2 separate regions of the Homo sapiens genome follow, and region 2 is linked to region 1. Evidence: promoter capture Hi-C in 16 types of primary human blood cells and fetal thymus (Javierre and others, 2016). All regions are on one chromosome and are shown on one strand. The core of a region is centred on a gene start or on the middle of the fragment in contact, and the rest is flanking DNA. Distances in the headings are between cores, read along the strand shown. Region 1 holds the start of LDB3 (LIM domain binding 3). Region 2 overlaps MMRN2 (multimerin 2).

Region 1 (4,555 bases), core at 2,020-4,519:
ACTTCTGAGGTGACACAGCTGAGAGCAGCAGAGCCTAACAAAGCATACTCCTCTTCCCCAAGGCGGAGGCATGAGAGGCATGAAGAGGTGAGACCCCAGACCACAGCCCCAGCCTCTGGCCAGCTGCCAGGGCAGAGGCCTTTGGAGCTGCTCCCTCTCTGGGCTGCTCCCCCTTCTCCACTTCCTGGAGAACTGGCTGGGGTGGGGTGAAAGGGCAGCTCATGTTGCAGGCCCAGCCACACCTGTCCAGGATAAATAAAGGCATTTCCCCGCCACCCTCCTTTCCCAGTCTCCCTCTTGAACTCCCTTCTCTGTGGGTCTGCAAGCAGAGACCCTATGAAGGGATGCCTTGAGGGGCTGCTGCTGCCCCAAAGTTGCTGCCATGAGCCCCCGGGAGCCACCACCCAGCCTGCAGGTGGCCTGTGTCCTTCCAGGAGGAGCTGCAGCACACACCTGCAGCTGAGAGGGGACAGACCCTCCCCAGTGCCTCTCTATTAGTCCCAGTTAGAGGGGTGAGCAAGCCAGCATGGGAGTTAGGGGTGACAGGATACAGGAGATCCACCCATGGACATCCCTGTCCTGTGAGCAGACTCGAGCCTCAGTTTGCCAGGCTCTGAAGCGAGGTAACGATCCCAGCCTCGCCTGCCTGCCCACCCCACAGGGTCACACACTCTTGCCTCTGGTGCCCTATGGCACAGGCTCAGGTCCTGGCTGGGGTGGGAGTGGGGTTCCTCCAGAGAGCTCTGGCCATGCCTCCCCCGTAGGGGGATGTCCCTGGTGCAGAAGGGCCCTGCGAGCCCCGGCAGTAAATCCTACAGCCCTGGTGGGATGGCAGGGCTGTGTCCACAAGGCCTGCCCTGCCAGCGGCACTGAACCAGGACACAAGCCCAGGCTATCAGCAGCCTACCACCAAAATTTCTCAAGAGGCTCCGAGCCCTGGGGAAGGCTCCAGTACCCAGTCCAGCCTGCTCCGCGGCTTAGGTGATTTGGGGTATGCCCCTAAAGGAAGCCGAGAGGCCATATCATGCCCATCCCCCGGTGCCCTGCCCGAGCTTCGGGTTCTATTTTTAGAAGTCCCCACAGTCATTGGATCCAGCACATCCCTGCATACCCCCTCCCCAGAGTAAGGACATTCCTCCTGCTATCTAGCTTAAGGCTTCTGGGCTGCCATTTAAGCCCCTGGCTGGCCGGGGCCAGGTGGCACATAGACCCTGGGTGAGGTCATTGGCTATCCTGAGTGCCACTGAGCCCAGTGGCCAATTTGCACCCATAGGGATAGGGCAGGGAGCACCAGCAGGAGGCCTCGAGATGGTGGAGCTGGGGGAGATGTGGGCTCAGTCCCAGGCAGGGGAGGCCACAGGGCCCATGAGAGAGCACACAGAGGCTCCACCTTATACAGGAAGGAGTCCTGCAAGCATGGGGGTGGGGAGCTGTGGGAAAGGGCAGTGGGAAATCCACTGGGGCTCACATGCTCACAGGTCACCACCTCATGCAAAGTGTGCAAGGCTGTGGGTGCCCAGGACCCTGTGGTCTCCAGGGCAGTAGATCTGGAGGGGTGGAATCTCCAGGTTAGAACAAGCCACATCTGCAACTGAAGGATGGAGGTCAGGGCCTGTTCCCTGCACCAGAGCCAGGCCAGCACCCCTCCTGTAAGCATGTGGCCTCTATGGCTATTATAAGGCTCTCACGGCATCCCTGGGTGGGGCTTCTACTTCTGGGGTCCCCTCAAGTACCCGTGGAACAAAAAAAAGATTACTCCTCCACTGGGGGCATTGGCTCCTGACCCGCTGCCCAGGTTCCCTGGCCCCTCTGCCAAGCCCCTTCAGGCCTTGCCCACTTCAGTGCTTCCCCTCCAACCCCTTCCTCCAGCCCCCAGGCCCAAGGCAAGTCCTTAAGGCCCCAGAGAAGAAACTGTCCCCTTGTTCCCCTGGTGGGCAGTAGCCCAGATACCCCTGCCTACCTACCACCCTCCAGTGACAGACTGGGGGCCTCCCCCTCTGGCCTTGTGCCCGGAACAGCACGGTCAGGGGCTCAGCCACCAGGCAGGGTTGTCCTTGCCCTGTATGCCTCACAGTTCGCCCTGAGCCTTGGGGCCTTCAGCCCTGGGTCTACCAGTGCCTTGCTGGGGAGTCTCTTTGTTTGACAGAAACTGACGGAGTGCCTACTACGGTCTGGGGGCTGTTCCCCCATCAGTCCCTGCTCCTGGAGTGCTTCCTCAGGAGCATGGCTAACTTTCTGCCTCTCTGGTGTTGCTGTCTCCAGCCAGGCGGTAGAGTTACTCAGACAACCCCTGATGTTCTGTGTCATCTGCATCAGGCCATGCTGCTCCCCATCACAGACACTGCAGGATAGGGGGCCATCTCACCAGGCCCCAGCACTTGTGGGGAACAAGACCTGAGACAGACAAAGCAGCCATGGTGAATGGGGAGAAGCGCCCAGCCCCATGAGCCAGGGTCTTGGTGTCTCAAGTTTGGGATGGAGCAGGTGCCCAGTACTCAGTCCAGCCCAGCCCCACACTCTGACAGCTGGGCAGCCAAGGTCAACCGTCTGTCTGTCCATCTATCCAACTGCCCATCACCTGCCCTCTCCATGCTGGGAATACTCCCTTCCCAAAGCAGCTGCCCATATCTAGGGAAATGCTCAAGGCTTGGGGGCACCCTGAGCCCACTCTAACAGTAAAGGGATCAGGAAGGTGCTGTACTCTCTGTCCAGCTACCTGCCTGCCTGCCTGCCTGCCTGCCTGAAAACTCAGCATTTTCTTCTCTGCTAAAAACACCTACCACCTGCTCATGATGTCTCACATGCATAACAGGCCGGCGCGCTCCAGTGAGCAAACAGCTGTGGCTGAGACCAGAGGACCAGGCCAGTCCCAGGGGATGGGGCATGCTCTGCTTTCTGAGAGGCTCAGAAAGGACAGACAGACAGACGGACACACATGCCCTCCTCCAAGCGTGCCTGCCCCATCGGGTGCCAGGCTGTGGCAGGGTGCACTCACCCGGGAGATAGTGAGGGGCATGTTGAAGTCCTTGCCCCCCTGCAGACGGAAGCCCCAGGGCCCGGGCCCAGTCAGGGTCACACTGTAAGACATGCTGGTGCTGTCAGCGGCCGCCTCTGCAGACAAAGGGTAGAGAGGGTTGAGTGAGAGGGCACTCAGGCACTCCGCCTGCCCGGTCCACACCTCTGCCCCTGCCCCTGACCCCCAGCCTTGCCTGTTCTGTCCCTTGCTGCCCAGCCGGGCTGCGTGGAGCTCTTGAGAGGCTCCTAAGAATAGCTGGGAGCGAATGCCATCGACACTGATATCTGCCTTCGGCTGCGCCCATAAATGGACTGTAACCCTACACTGTGCCTGCCAGCCTGCCGCCTCCCAGCCGGTCCACCATGACTCACACGGCTAATATAGCCCCTGGGGAGGGGTGTCCGGCACCCAGCACCCCCCAGGGGGGAGGAAGGGGAACTGGCCTGGTTGGTGAGAATGCTCTGGTCTCCTTGCTCCTGTGTCCTCTGGAGAGCGTAGACACTCGCTCTTCCTGCCCAGTGGTACCCATCCTCTTGCTCAGAAGACCAGGGGCTGAGCTCCCTTGGGTAGGGGCTTTGCTGCCGTGTGGTCCCTGGCCAGGATTCTGGGGTTGTGCTTTATCCAGTATGGGGCCCTGGAGGTGCCTTGGCTTGAGCTGAGCCTCCAGCTGGTCTGTGACTGGCCCAGGGTTGTCCAGCCATAAAAACGATCATCATAACAGCAGCTCTGGGCATAGCCAACCTCAGTATGGGCCCTTCACTCCCTGGGATCCTGAGAAGCTGCCACCTGGGCCCGCAGGAGACAAAGCTCAGGGAGGTTAAATGACTTCTCCAAGGTCACACAAGGAGTGGACCCAGGTCACACTGGAGCCTGGGCTGATTCCTACAGAATGCATGCCAGATAATGGGCTCCCAGTAGCCACAGAAGCCTCCCAAAGCCCTGGTCCTGGGCAGCTGGCCCTCTGCCTGCACCCCTTGGCATAGGGTCTGAAAGCAGGTCTGAGGCAGGCCCATCCCCTCCAGACCCTCTGGGGGCCCAGCCAGTTATTCCTGGCTCTCCTGTCTTTGTGCTCTGGAAAACTTGACGGCAGCATGGAAAGCTCCAGCTGCCAGTGCCACACGCCAGGCCCCGTGCCCTTTGCGCAGGAATGGCAGGGGGCAGGGAGAAGGGAGGAGACGCCATTTGCTCAGCTGCTAGACACAGGGCCAGGAGGGGCAGGGAGGGGGAAGCACGTGTGGCATGTTCAGCCTGTACCCCAGAGACAGTGTGTTCTGGATGGGGGCCTCAGCACCTTGGGACTTCTGCCAGTGCGGTCTTTGGGCCAACCCCTTCCCCAAGAAAGACCTCAGGCCCCTATGTGGTCTGGAGATAGATCAAGGCCCACCCTGGCTCCTTGGTTGGAGAAACTGAGGCTCAGGGGAGGCAACTGGGTTGGCTGCTTGCTGGCCCTCTTGGAGGGGTCTGGCTTGGACCCTGAGGAGTCAGTAGAGGCCTGGGTGTGAGTCATTTCTCAGCTTCTAGCCTCACTCCTGGGGCCTG
Region 2 (4,900 bases), core at 2,089-4,588, 270 kb before region 1:
TGCTGGAGGAGATGTCTGAGCAGACGCCGGGACCGCTGCCCCTGAGCTACGAGCAGATCCGCGTGGCCCTGCAGGACGCCGCTAGCGGGCTGCAGGAGCAGGCGCTCGGCTGGGACGAGCTGGCCGCCCGAGTGACGGCCCTGGAGCAGGCCTCGGAGCCCCCGCGGCCGGCAGAGCACCTGGAGCCCAGCCACGACGCGGGCCGCGAGGAGGCCGCCACCACCGCCCTGGCCGGGCTGGCGCGGGAGCTCCAGAGCCTGAGCAACGACGTCAAGAATGTCGGGCGGTGCTGCGAGGCCGAGGCCGGGGCCGGGGCCGCCTCCCTCAACGCCTCCCTTCACGGCCTCCACAACGCACTCTTCGCCACTCAGCGCAGCTTGGAGCAGCACCAGCGGCTCTTCCACAGCCTCTTTGGGAACTTCCAAGGGCTCATGGAAGCCAACGTCAGCCTGGACCTGGGGAAGCTGCAGACCATGCTGAGCAGGAAAGGGAAGAAGCAGCAGAAAGACCTGGAAGCTCCCCGGAAGAGGGACAAGAAGGAAGCGGAGCCTTTGGTGGACATACGGGTCACAGGGCCTGTGCCAGGTGCCTTGGGCGCGGCGCTCTGGGAGGCAGGTGAGTTCCTGGGCTGGGGAGACTGGACGAGCCTAGGAGGCCAGGGCCGGCTGCCGGCAGCTCTTCTGCCTCCAAGAGGGCCAGGAAGAAAGAGAACAGGATGGCCATCCGTCACCCCTACTAGGTCCACCTTCCCCTTGGCCCACCTGCTTCTCAGGGGTGTGGGTCTCTCAAGCTACCTGGCTTATGGGGAGACAGAAGTCACAAGAACCACCTGCTAGTGCCAGAGCCCGTGAGCGGCATAGCCTGGAGGCCACAGGCACAATAGTGCCGCCTACTGCTCCTGCTACAGAGAGGGCATCGCCTCCTGCCCTGCCAGGGCAGCCTTCAAGTCCCCCCATCTCATCTCTTCACCTCACCCCCTTCATTCCCATGTGCGTTTAAGCCACTGTATCTAGGAAGAATGTGGATAGGGACTGTGGCCACTTGCAGCCCCACTTAGTTCTGTTTCATTTTCCATGATTTTAGTTTTTTTTTTGTTTTTTTTTTCTTTTTCTTTTCTTTTTTTTTTTTTTTTTAAGATGGGTCTCACTTTGTCGTCCAGGCTTGAGTACAGTGGTGGGATCATGGCTCACTGCAGCCTAGACCTCTCCAGGCTCAGCTGATCCTCCCACTTCAGCCTCCAGAGTAGCTAGGACTTACAGGCATGTGTCACCATGCCTAGCTAATTTTTGTACTTTTTGTAGAGACAGGGTCTTGCTATGGTGCCCAGGCTGGTCTCAAATTCCTGGGATCAAGTAATCTGCCCACCTCAGCCTCCTAAAGTGTTAGGATTACAGGTGTGAGCCATGTGCCCAGCCTTGATTTCAGTTTCTTGCATCAACCACGATCAGAAAATAGGTGAGTACAGTACAATAAGATTTTGAGAGAGGGAGACACCACATTCATATAACTTTTATTACAGTATACTGTTATAATTGCTTTATATTTTATTATTATTGTCAATCTCTTACTGTGCCTAATTTACAAGTTAAACTTTGGCATAGGTATGTACATAGAGGAAAATAAATAGTATATATAGGGTTTGGTACTGTCTGAGATTTCAGGCACCTGCTAAGGTCTTGGAACACACCTCAGTGGACTGTACAGGGAAAGCCGTGGGCCCTGAAAGGAGCTCATTCCCTCTGCAAATACAGTTAACCTGTCTCATCGCTCTGTGCTAGTCCCCTTCCTGGGCTTTACCACAATGGCCCATCCCAACAGGTCAATGACACACTCATCAGCACTTCCATCTTACCTGAAACTGAGGCGCAAACACAAGTTTCCTGCTTGCACAGCTAGTGAGCAGCAGAGGAGCGCTGTCTTTAGGGTGCCGGTTCTTCACCTCCAGAAGGCCCTCCATGGCTGGTCCCTGCAGGGCCCTGGGCCTGGGAGCTGGCTTTGAGGCTGAAGGCATGTGCAACCAAGCTTCCCATCCCCTCCCTGAGTGTGGTCCCGGGAGGGGGACAACTAGGCTCTGTGTCTCAAGTGACTCTCTCTGCCAGAGGCTGGCCTTGGAGCTGTGGCCTCTCCCCACCCAGACACAGGGCTAAGTACAAGGCCACCATCTTGGCCATGTGCAGCCTGGCGTGTGGCAAGTCCAAGGCCTTGTTGAAGGTCCCGTCCCAGGCAGCCCCTGCCCCAGCTGACCCTCCCTATGGCCCAAGAGGCAATGTGGAGCAGTGGGAAGCACCCAGGCTCTGGCATCACTTGTCTGTTTCTTCCTCAGTAAAATGGCAGAATCCCTACCCATGTCAAAGTTTTGTTATGAAGACTGCTGCGTTTACCAAATACCTAGCACGAGGCTTACCTCATGTAGGAACGCAGTCAACGTTTTCCCATTTCCCCAGCATTTTCAGGGTTCAGGTTGTGTCCACCGACACTGACACTTCTCTCTTGTTTCCTCTCGTGCGTGGTGCAAGGCTTCAATATGCTGATGACTTTCAGAATTTGCCCCACGGTTTGGAAATGTGTTTACCACGACGATATTTATTTCAAAAAAATGTTGTTCTTAAAAACAAATTTCCAGGCCGGGCGCAGTGGCTCATGCCTATAATCCCAGCAGTTTGGGAGGCCGAGGCGGGTGGATCACTTGAGGTCAGGAGTTCAAGACCAGCCTGGCCAACATGGTGAAACCCCATCTCTACTAAAAATACAAAATTAGCCGGGTGTGGTGGCGGGCGCCTAATCCCAGCTACTCGGGAGGCTGAGACAGGAGAATCACTTGAACCCGGGAGGCAGAGGCTGCAGTGAGCCGAGATTGCGCCACTGCACTCCAGCCTGGGCAAGAAGAGCGAAACTGTCAAAAAAAAAAAAAAAATTAGCCCGGTGTGGTGGCAGGCACCTGTAATCCCAACTACCTGGAAGGCTGAGGCAGGAGAATCGCTTGAACCTGGGAGGCAGAGGTTGCTGTGAGCCAAGATAGCTCCATTGCACTCCAGCCTGGGCGGCAGAGTAGGACTCTGTCTCAAACACACACACACACACACACACACACAAACACACACACACACACACACACACACACACACCCCAAATTTCCCTTTATTTGTTTGTAGGAAGGCTGTAGGGCTTGAATGTGTGCCCTGCAGGGAAGCACACTCTGAGTTTGCACAGCCCTTCCCGCATCTTAGGGCCTGTCAGGCGCAAGGCTGGGTTGGGGTGGGGGTCTCTCTCTGCGGCGGAACTCCCTGCGCAGGCGCCCGGACGGAACGGCCGGAACGAGGGCCTAGCACCGGTAGAGGGCGCTGCGGGCCGGCCTTCCTTCGGCTAGGCAAGAGAACCACCTGCAGGGTGTTAGGGGAATTGCAGAGGCAGCCGCCGGCCTCTGACTTGGGCACAATCTTTTTTTTTTTTTTTTTTTTTTTTTTTTTTTTGAGACGGAGTCTCGCCCTTTCGCTCAGGGTGGAGTGCAATGGCACGATCTCGGCTCACTGCAACCTCCGCCTTCCGGGTTCAAACGATTCTCCTGCCTCAGCCTCCCGAGTAGCTAGGATTACAGGCGCCTGCCACCATGCCCAGCTAATTTTTGTAGTTTTAGTAGAGACGGGATTTCACCATGTTGGCCAGGCTGGTCTCTATCTCCTGACCTCGTGATCCGCCCACCTCGGCCTTCCAAAGTGCTGGGATTACAGGCGTGAGCCATTGCGCCCGGCATTTTTTTTTTTTTTTTTTTTTGACGGAGTTTCACTCTCGTTGCCCAGGCTGGAGTGCAACGGCGTGATCTCGGCTCACGGCAACCTCCGCCTCCCGGGTGCAAGCGATTCTCATGCCTCAGCCTCCCAAGTAGCTGGGATTACAGGTATGCCCCACCACGCCTGGCTAATTTTGTATTTTTAGTAGAGATGGGATTTCTCCATGTTGGTCACGCTGGTCTCGAATTCCCGACTTCAGGTGATCCGCCCGCCTTGGCCTCCCAAAGTGCTGGGATTACAGGCGTGAGCCACTGCGCCCGGCTGATTTGACACAATCTGAACACAAATGAGAAAGCTATTCTCAGCTGTCTAATTCTCAGAAAATCTTCCAGAACTAGAGAAAAGCAACATTTTTTTATTCACAAAGGCTTGCTGGATTGGGAGTCAAAGAGCTGAGGCTTGAGTTCCGGGACCCAAGTCAGTAATTGCTCAGCAAACTGCTCCTCTGAAGGCTTTGGTTTTATCACCTAAGAAATGGGGACCTTGTTTTAAACCCCTACAGAGGGAGCAAGTTGAGGAACCCCATGGTGGACATGACCTCGTTGGTGCCAAGGCCAGTGTCACAGCCAGGACCCAAGTAGGACTTACCTTTCCTGTGCCATCTCATGACCCTGTCCCCAGCTGCCCAACCATGCTGTCCAGGCAGCAGGACTGGCTTCTTCCTGGCTGTTTGTACACCCTCCACACATGGCAGCTTCCTCTGCTTCTGTGCCCGTGCATGGGCCTGGCACCAGTGTTCTGTCAGTGTTCCTGTCCTAAGGCTGGCCAAAGTGGTCCCTGCAGAGAACCAGAAGTCTAGAGATTCAAGGTCTGTTCCCAGGAGGCTTGGTAATTTACTAGTTGTGTGGTCTGGAGCAATAAGCTTTTTCTTTCTGGGCCTCAATTTACCCATATGTAAGATGACCAGCTTGGCCAGTAACAGTGGCTCACACCTGTAATCCCAGCACTTTGCGGGGTTGAGGTGGGAGGACCGCTTGAGCTCAGGAGTTTGAGACCAGCCTGGGCAACAGAGCAAGACTCTGTCTCTACAAAAAATAAAAAATTAGCCAGGCATGATGGCGTATGCCTGTAGACCCAGCTACTCAGGTGGCTGAGGTGGGAGGATTGCTTGA

Evidence for each region. The method cuts DNA at HindIII sites, captures the fragments that hold promoters and counts their contacts. A CHiCAGO score of 5 or more calls a contact.
Region 2: a contact is called between a fragment that was not itself captured here and the fragment with the promoter of LDB3 in region 1, in 1 of 17 cell types (M1 macrophages). The highest score is 5.1, in M1 macrophages.

Annotation. Positions count from the first base shown.
Region 1 is chr10:86,667,225-86,671,779 of GRCh38, reverse strand. It overlaps LDB3 (LIM domain binding 3), which reads right to left and starts at 3,269. Exons shown (of 14, transcript NM_007078.3): 1 at 3,210-3,269; 2 at 2,996-3,111. The coding sequence starts at 3,088. RefSeq lists an enhancer at 3,089-3,138. The HindIII fragment of the contact is 20,890 bases long and covers 1-4,555 here.
Region 2 is chr10:86,938,032-86,942,931 of GRCh38, reverse strand. It overlaps MMRN2 (multimerin 2), which reads left to right. Exons shown (of 7, transcript NM_024756.3): 6 at 1-615. Among named protein-coding and RNA genes, the nearest start is that of MMRN2, 17 kb to the left of the region's middle. RefSeq lists enhancers at 2,063-2,563, 2,993-3,042, 3,186-3,480. The HindIII fragment of the contact is 2,628 bases long and covers 2,025-4,652 here.